3 separate regions of the Homo sapiens genome follow, and all the other regions are linked to region 1. The links are contacts of gene promoters, found by promoter capture Hi-C in human tissues and cell types (Jung and others, 2019). All regions are on one chromosome and are shown on one strand. Each heading gives the region's core, a stretch centred on a gene start or on the middle of the fragment in contact. The rest is flanking DNA. Distances are from core to core; before and after follow the strand shown. Region 1 holds the start of FAM83F (family with sequence similarity 83 member F). Region 2 holds the start of ADSL (adenylosuccinate lyase). Region 3 overlaps TNRC6B (trinucleotide repeat containing adaptor 6B).

Region 1 (2,698 bases), core at 67-2,566:
GGACTGGCCTCACCAGCCACCCTGGAAACAGCCCCTCCTTCCAACTCTCAAGCAGGACACATATGCTAAGTAGGAGCCCTTTCCTGAGCTGCCGAGTCAGGTGACCTGCTGTGCCAAGGCGCCCAGCACAGGGCCAGGCACACAGTAGGTCCTCAATATACCCCGTCCCCCATTCATTCCAGGCAGCTGGGGCCTAGTACCCGGCCCAGGAGAGGCTGTGACTGTGAGGGCGCCAGCTCAGCTTTGACTATGGGAGGAGAGGGGTGGTCCAAGGAGCAGCATGGCAGAGGTGGGACCGGGAAGGTCACCGCCACCCACTCCCTGAAGTTGTTTTGACGATCACATGAGAAAGCGGCTCGGGATATGTTCTGGGCAGCACGTAGGTTATCATCAAGACCTTTGAGTGGTGCATTTTAACCACAGGGCCTCGGCCCCCAGTCTTCCCTGGGGAGGAAGGCTGGACAGGGAAGTTTCAGAAGTACAGAGCAGAGCCAGTGCCTCTGAACGCTGGAATACCGACGGCTGACATCTGTCCAGCACCTTGTAATTTGCCAAACACGTTCCCAGCCATTCGCTCTACAGGCCTCACTGCAGCCCCAGGAAGTAGGGGCGGGTTGGGGCCCATTTTCCAGAGGGTGCTCAGGGCGGCCTGCCCCGGGCCCTGCCTGGGAGGTGGGGCCCGGTCCAGGGGACTGGGGCCGAGGTCCCAGCGGTGTGGGGGCGAAGGCGGGGGCCTACCTTCTGGGCCTGTTGGATCATCTGCCTGACCACCTGCTTGAGGTGCGGCGCCTTCTCGTCCTTGGGCGGGTGGGTGAAGAGCGTGACCCGGCTCACGCCGCGGTAGAAACCAGTGTCCGTCCAGCCCAGGTCCAGAGGAGGCACCTCGGTGTCGGAACGGTCGGGCCAGTAGGCCAGGGACTCGCCGGACTCAGCCGGCGCCGGCGCGGGGGCCTTGGCCTTGGCCTTGCTCTTGCCCCGGGCGTTGGCGGCGGGGACGGCGTCCTCGTAGGGGCTCCAGGCGGCCCGCAGGGCCTGGCGCTCCGGGCTGGAGAGGAAGTCCCGCAGCTGCTCCTCCTTGAGCCGCTCGCGGTAGGCCTGCTCGCCGCCGCCCAGCAGCGCCTCCAGCGCGGCCCGCCGCCGCTCGCAGTAGTAGAAGGCGGCCTGCGCCTCGGTCACCTTCTCGTTCACGTGCGCCTCGTCCAGGCAGTTCAGCTGGGACTCGGCCATGGCGCCCCGGCCCCGGCCCCGGCCCTGGCCCCGGCCCCGCCGCGGTCCGAGGTCCCACAGCCGCACCTGGAGCCGCCGAGGGGCGGGGCGCCTCACCTGGCCGCGAGCTCTGCCCCGGCCCGTCCCGCCCCGCCCCGCCGTCGGGGAGCGGCCAATCCGCGCGGGCGTGGCCGTCGGGCGGGGAGGGGCCGCCGCCTCCGCCGGGCTCGCCGGGACCTCCGGGCGGCCTGGCGGACGCGGTCGGGCCCGGGCCTGCAGGGCCCACCAGCCGGGGCTAGAGTCCCTGAGGGGACGCCCCCAGGGGGCGGGGCCGTCGCAGACCCACGTGCGGGCTCCGGCCCCGACTCCTCCGCGGGGTAAAGGTTCGCTGTCCGGCCCTCGCTGCCATCCGCCCCCGCCGGCCGCGTCGCGGGTACGAGTTCATTTTCCGCGCACGTGGAGTCCGGAGCACGTGTTCTGGCCCAGTGGCCTCTGGGGCCGCCGAGCTGACCCCTTCCCCGTCGAGGGTCCGGTGTTGGTGGGGGGGCCTGCTGCAGGACGGGATTGTGACGGCTGAGGAGCGGGCAGGGGGTGTGCAAAAGCGAAATGCTAATGAGAGCTCGAGCTCCCCACCCTTGCGTCCCAGTTCTGAGATCAGAGCCCTTCTGGGCTGGGAGTCCAACACCTTCACTGTAAAACTTTCTTTTAAAAAATAGCTATCCAAACAGAAATGATGTAAAGAGCAGCAGTGGAATTCCCCCCGCCCCCACCTTAATTTGAAGTAGGGTGTGTGGTGTCTCTCCGTGTGTGTTTGGGCAAGATAGGCTGCCAGAGACATGATTACTATATTAGTGATTCAAAATGTATGTTTGAGCTCAAGGAAGGAAACCGCACGTGCGTGCACACCACACACACGCACACACACAGCAGCGGTGGCAGCAGCTCTGCTGTTTCCCATCGGATTAAATACAATCGTCTTAGTCATTAACATATTATGTTGTTCATGCACTGCTCTACAATTTGATTCTCCACATTCAAAATATTTTCAGATCATAACAACTAAAGGTTCACATTTCTCTCACTTTATAGCGCAGCATCTCAGAGCTGGAAGGAGCTTTTCAAGCTCCTCCAACCCCCTCATTTTACAGTTGAAGAAATTGAGGCCTAGCAACGTGTGCGTTGCCCAGGTCTCCCGTGAAAGAGGCAGAGCACGGGGACTGCAAGGTTTTCTGTCTTGGAGGTCTTTCGCTGACATCACGGCCGCCTTTACCCTTTCTCCTTTTCTTGTGAAACGACAGGTTATTGGGGACCTGGTTTTCACCCCAGGGGATTTGAAAAGGTCACTTACCATTTCTAGGCCTTCCTTTCATGCTCTGGAAAAAATGAGAGTTAGATTTTCAAATGTCTGCACATTATTGTTATTATTATTTTTTTTTTTACAATAATCAGTTCTGGCATCCTGTGTCAGCCCAAAGATTGGGAGTGGTGAGCA
Region 2 (2,698 bases), core at 79-2,578, 350 kb before region 1:
GATGCTTCATTCTTCCATCTGTAAAACAGGTACAGTCATAGTATTTCATACCTACTCTTCAGGGTTGTTTGGAGGATTAATAAGCAACCATGTGTAAAGGGTTAAGACCTGGGTCTCAGAAGGCACTATCTGAATGTCTGCTATTATTGTAGTGTATCGCCCAATATTTTGGAGGGCAGTGATAAGGGGAGGGAGGGAATCTAGAATGAAAGTTTCCTGTTTGGAGAGTTCCATGGTACAGGTCCTAGGCCCGAAGTCAAATTGTTTCCATGTTTACTGTGCCGTTTGAGAGGGCATTGCCAACTTGCTCGTTGTGGCACTTTCCTCTGAAACTTGAGGAGAAACATTATCGCTCTCTGGATCACCTTCAGTTTGCTTCAACTCTTCTGGAGCTATTTCTGAAACCGCTGGGCTAAGAAGTTCTCTATGCAGCCCTTAGAAAAGAAATTATAAACCCCGTTTAATAAACCCCTACCCGGAGTCTTCTCCTAAGAGGCAAAGCGGAGGCCAGTGAGGCAGAAACGGTGGCCTAGAAAACAAGCATTCCAGTCCTGTCACTAACTACACAGGCACTGTGGAAAACCAAGGGGCTACGTGCTCAGCTCAGGCTCTGGAGTGCACCCAGGTTCAAATCCCAGTTCCGTTCTTAATAGCTGGATGGGCTAGGGCAAACAACAAGCTGTCCGGGCTTTGTTCTCCCCTGCAATGTGGGAAAAACACCATCAAGCCTGCAAGATCTTCATGGATTACACAAGAAAAGATTAGTGAAATAATGAGCACAACAGTACGAAACAAGCGCTCGGTGTCTGTGGTTAGCAGCGTACTCCTGCGGGGATGGCCAAAATGAATTCCCTGAAACTACAGGCTGAATTTCTCCCAGCCTCCTCCGCGTCTCGAACCCTCTCGGACTGAGAACACGTGAGGCAACAGGTGGCGGCTCCCGGATCTCCTGCCCTTGCTTTCCTGGGGCCGCAGCTCCTCAGGACAGGGAACACCCAGCTGAAAATAGCCGGGCCGCAGCTCCGGGGTGGCTAAGCCCAGCCCGGAACAGAGCCCGGCACGTGCTGGGGCGGGCCCGTCCCTCCCGGCCCAGCCCCTCAGCCCGGGATCCGTTACCTGCTCGGCCTCCGCCAGCCACAGCCACAGCTGCCGCCATGTCCGGAATTTATACCTGTCGCTAAACACGAAGCACATCTCCGGGCTGGCATAGCGGGAGGCAAGAGGTGAGCGGTAGCTGTCGGGCGAACCATGATCGCCTCCAGCCGCCATCCCAACCCTGCGACCCCGCCAGGGTGGACTGGACCAGGGAAGAGCGGAAGCGGAAACCTGGAGGCCAGGGCAGGACGGGGCGGGGCGGGACTTCCTTCACGCGGTCTCGCTCTCTGGGTTCCGGGCGCCCTGGGCGCTGCCGGCTGCGGAGAATCTCCGCTGCTTCTGCCTGAGAATTGACTTGGTTCGCTTCTTTGACCAGAAACATGATTGATGCTTCCTACGTTACTTAGCCGCGCTACACTTTAGTTTTCCTGTCTGAAAAGAGGTACATTAAGACTTCCTTGGCCGGGCGCGGTGGCTCACGCTTGTAATCCCAGCACTGTGGGGGCCCCAGACCGGAGGATCGCTTGAGGCCGACAGATCGAGACCAGCCTGGGCAACACAGGGAGACCCTCCCGTCTCTAAAAAACAAAAAGCAAAAAAAAAAAAAAAAAAAAAGGCCTGCCTTTCGGGTTGTGCGGATTCAGTGTTAGAGCGGTGTCTGGCACACTTGGAAGGCCGTGTGTACGCTTGCTGTTACTCTTATTACTGTCGCCCCACCCACTCCTGCCCGCGGCGCACCGAGCTCGGCTCTAAGGAGAAATGAAGATACCCAAGGGAAATCGGCATTTACTGCGCCCCCAGTGAGCCGGCTGCGGTGGCCTACGCCTGTAATCCCAGCACTTCGGGAGGTCGAGGCAGGCAGATTTCCTGAGCTTAGGAGTTTGAGACCAGCCTGGGCAACACGTGAAACCCTGTCTCTACTAAAATACAAAAAATTAGTCGGGCATGGCGGCCTGTACCTGTAGTCTCAGCTACTTGTGAGGCTGAGACAGGAGAATTTCTTGAACCCGGAAGGCGGAGGTTGCAGTGAGCCAAGATCGCGCCACTGCACTCCAGCCTGGGCGACAGAGCGAGACTCCGTCTCCAAAAAATAAAAGAATTAAATAAATAAATAGAAATAGAAACACTCAAGTGGCCCCCCCCCTTTTTTTTTTTTTTGACAGGGTCTTGCTATGTTGTTCAGTCTGGAGTGCCAGTGGGGTGATCACACAGGAAAGGGTTCATCTGGAGCTGTAAGAGCCAGGTGTCTCAGCTGGGCACGGTGACTCACGCCTATAATCTCAGCACTTTGGAGGCTGAGCTGGGCAGATCGCTTGAGTCCAGGAGTTGGAGACCAGCCTGAGCAACATGATGAAACACTGTCTCTACAAAAAATACAAAAATTAACTGGGTATGGTGGTGTGCACCTGTAGTCCCAGCTACTTGGGAGGCTGAGGTGGGAGAATCACTTGAGCCCAGGATGTTGAGGCTGCAGTAAGCCATGATTTTGCCACTACAGCTTAGGCAACAGTGAGACCCTGTCTCAAAAACAAAACAAACGAAAAGAGCCGGGTGCCTGCACCCTCTCCACCTGCACTTAACTCCTAGCTCTCTGCCTTTTACG
Region 3 (2,698 bases), core at 81-2,580, 270 kb before region 1:
TTCTCTATCCTCCTAGCATTCTGGAAACATAACACAGGCATCTAAAGATTCGCCTTCGCACAAGCCCCATGTCCAATTATGCCCTGAACACATATGACGGTGGAACTATGGAGGCTCAAATTTGTAACACTCTAGTCTGAGAAGGAAAAAAGGCCCCCAAAATAATAAGCAACAGCAGTTAAGTTAGCCCTTATGCCAAGAGCACACACTTACGGAACACTAAACCTCAGTTCCAAGAATCACCAATACACATCGCATACTAGGATCCTCTCTCATCTTTTGACTAATCCCAGTGGTTTATATAATGAATGGCTTTCCTGGACTTTACATCAAGCAATGCAAACAAAGTGCTCTCTCTCTGTCAAGCTGCCATGCATTCGATTCACAGGGTGCCTTACCTGGCGCAGTCCCACTCTCACTCTGCAGCAGCGCTCCTGTCACTTGTGCGTTGTTTGGGTTTGCTCCAGGTGCTGTGCAGGGAGGAGGCCCTGCCCCACCCCCAAGGAGCATGCAGGACGGTGGAGGGGGCTGCCCACGTTTTAGTAACACTTTGTGGTCCTGCTGGCAACGGAATCGCGGCGGCACCTCCCGAGGCATGTAGCGGGCGGCGCTTGGCGGTTGTCCGTTCGGCACTGCCACCCTTTTGGCATTGTTGCCACCATTGACTGGTGGCGATGGAGAGCTGCCAATTGGGCTGGCGGCCGTTGGTTGGCTTAAACTTGGTTTCGTCACTTCGGGCACTAAAAGAGAGGGGTTGGGAAACAGTCTTTGAAATACATCAAATACATTTTTTCTAAAAATTTTAAAAATAATTTTATTATTTTATTTAGAGATGGGGTCTTGCCATGTTGCCCATGCTGGTCTTGAACTCGGGCTCAAGGGACTCTCCCACCTTGGCTTTCCAAAGTGCTAGAATTACAAGAGTGAGCCACTGTGCCTGGCCAAGATTATTATTTATTTATTTATTTATTTATTTTTGAGACGGAGTCTCACACTGTCACCCAGTGTGAGTGTCGCCCAGGCTGGAGTGCAGTGGTGCAATCTCCGCTCACTGCAACCTCCGCCTCCCAGGTTCAAGCAATTCTCCTGCCTCAGCCTCCCAAGTAGCTCGGATTACAGGCGCCCACCACCAAAACCAGCTAATTTTTTGTATTTTTAGTACAGACAGGTTTTCACTATGTTGACCAGGCTGGTCTTGAACTCCTGACCTCATGATCCGCCTGCCTTGGCCTCCCAAAGTGTTGAGATTACAGGCATGAGCCACTGCACCCAGCCTATTTTTTATTTTTTTGAGATGAGGTCTTGCTGTATAACTCGGGCTGGAGTGCAGTGATCTTGGCTTGCTGCAACTTCTACCTCCAGGGCTCAAGTGATCCTCCCACCTCAGCCTCTTGAGTAGCTGGGACTACAATGCATACACCACTATGCCCAACTAATTTTTTTTTCCTCCTCTAGAGACAGGGTTTTGCCATGTTGCCTACCTAGACTGGTCTCGAACTCCTGAACTCAAGCTATTTACCCACCTCGGCCTCCCAAAGTGCTGGGATTACAGGTGTGAGCCACCACACCCAGACCCTGGCTAAGATTATTTGTAAGAAAGCTTACATGGTACCAATTCTAACAAAGTAACTTCTCCTTTTACTCTACTCTCAAGGGAAACAGTTTTTCCAAATTCTCCACAATCTCTCCAGTTTGCTGAAGGTAGGATGAAGGTGGCGGCTGACAGTGACAAGAATTTAAACACAGCAAGGTCATGGAATACATTCCATTAATTAAGGCGGAGAGGGAAGCAATCAACATTCACTCCCCTAAATCAACAGTGGAATTAATTCCCTGAAGTGCTGCCTAGAAGAGTTAAATGTCCATGGCAAAGTCCTTGGGAAAGGTTTCAAGCCTCAGTCCAAGGGTCCCTTCCCTTCATCCACATTCTTAAAAGATCTACCCCTGAGTAAACTTTATTGAAGCCCCTGGCCTAGATGGGCTAAACATTCTTCCTAAGTGCTCCTGGAACACATCATCCATCTCTCTCTACCATGAAAATTCTCCATTCAAAAATCCATCTATCTCTACCACCGAAATTCTCCATCTACAAGTCCCATCTCTCTCTATCACAGAAATTCTCCATTTACAAGTCCTTCTCCCTCACCAGGCCATGACTTCCTGAGGGCAAGGACCCATCTTTCATCTTTTCTTTCTTCCTTAGGGCATGGCACAGAGTGGACTCTTACAAGAAACTCCAGGCCTAGAAAATCACAAACTCAGCTTGGTTCTGGTTTCTACAGCTACCTGGACTCAAAGACTTGCACCGCTCTCTGTGTAAATACTAGAAATGTTACAAATCTTTTTGCTTTTCTTTAAAAAAAAAAAAAAGTGTTTCTTCCCAATTCTTTAAAATAGAAATTTCAAAATGTAAATACTTTTTCTGTTTACTTTAAATCATTTGATTTTTTTAAACTTAATTTTAAAAATGGCCCGCACACAGCGTGGGAATGTCGGGGCAACCGTGAAACCGCACTCTGCCGGACCCTCTGGCTCTTCCCGTCGAACATACAGAGAAGGCTCTCTTAGATCTGTACCTCCCTCGCTGCATGCTGCCAGAAGATCACTACCCTCTCCATAAAAATCTACCTGGCAAATAGAGGCTGGAAGTCGTACAGAAATAATCATCAAGCCTGACAGTTCGGATGATTCTGAGGCC

Evidence for each region. Contacts are between HindIII fragments. The study calls those that stand out against the background at their distance.
Region 2: a contact is called between the fragment with the promoter of ADSL here and the fragment with the promoter of FAM83F in region 1, in 3 of the 25 tissues and cell types used here (IMR-90 fibroblasts, aorta and lymphoblastoid cells).
Region 3: a fragment that was not itself captured here is called in contact with the fragment with the promoter of FAM83F in region 1 in 4 of the 25 tissues and cell types used here (H1 embryonic stem cells, IMR-90 fibroblasts, dorsolateral prefrontal cortex and 1 more).

What each region holds. Positions count from the first base shown.
Region 1 is chr22:39,993,572-39,996,269 of GRCh38, reverse strand. It overlaps FAM83F (family with sequence similarity 83 member F), which reads right to left and starts at 1,316. Exons shown (of 5, transcript NM_138435.4): 1 at 739-1,316. The coding sequence starts at 1,227. It overlaps LOC124905155, which reads right to left. Exons shown (of 2, transcript XM_047441700.1): 2 at 1,502-1,922. The coding sequence ends at 1,502. RefSeq lists a silencer at 1,274-1,393 and an enhancer at 968-1,601. The HindIII fragment of the contact is 11,866 bases long and covers 1-2,698 here.
Region 2 is chr22:40,345,130-40,347,827 of GRCh38, reverse strand. ADSL (adenylosuccinate lyase) reads right to left here and starts at 1,328. Exons shown (of 13, transcript NM_000026.4): 1 at 1,117-1,328. The coding sequence starts at 1,269. RefSeq lists enhancers at 273-785, 786-1,299, 1,300-1,813 and a silencer at 986-1,075. The HindIII fragment of the contact is 18,864 bases long and covers 1-2,698 here.
Region 3 is chr22:40,259,874-40,262,571 of GRCh38, reverse strand. TNRC6B (trinucleotide repeat containing adaptor 6B) reads right to left here. Exons shown (of 23, transcript NM_001162501.2): 4 at 399-740. LOC124905121 (a long non-coding RNA gene) reads left to right here. Exons shown (of 2, transcript XR_007068107.1): 2 at 2,204-2,698. Among named protein-coding and RNA genes, the nearest start is that of TNRC6B, 83 kb to the right of the region's middle. The HindIII fragment of the contact is 8,779 bases long and covers 1-2,698 here.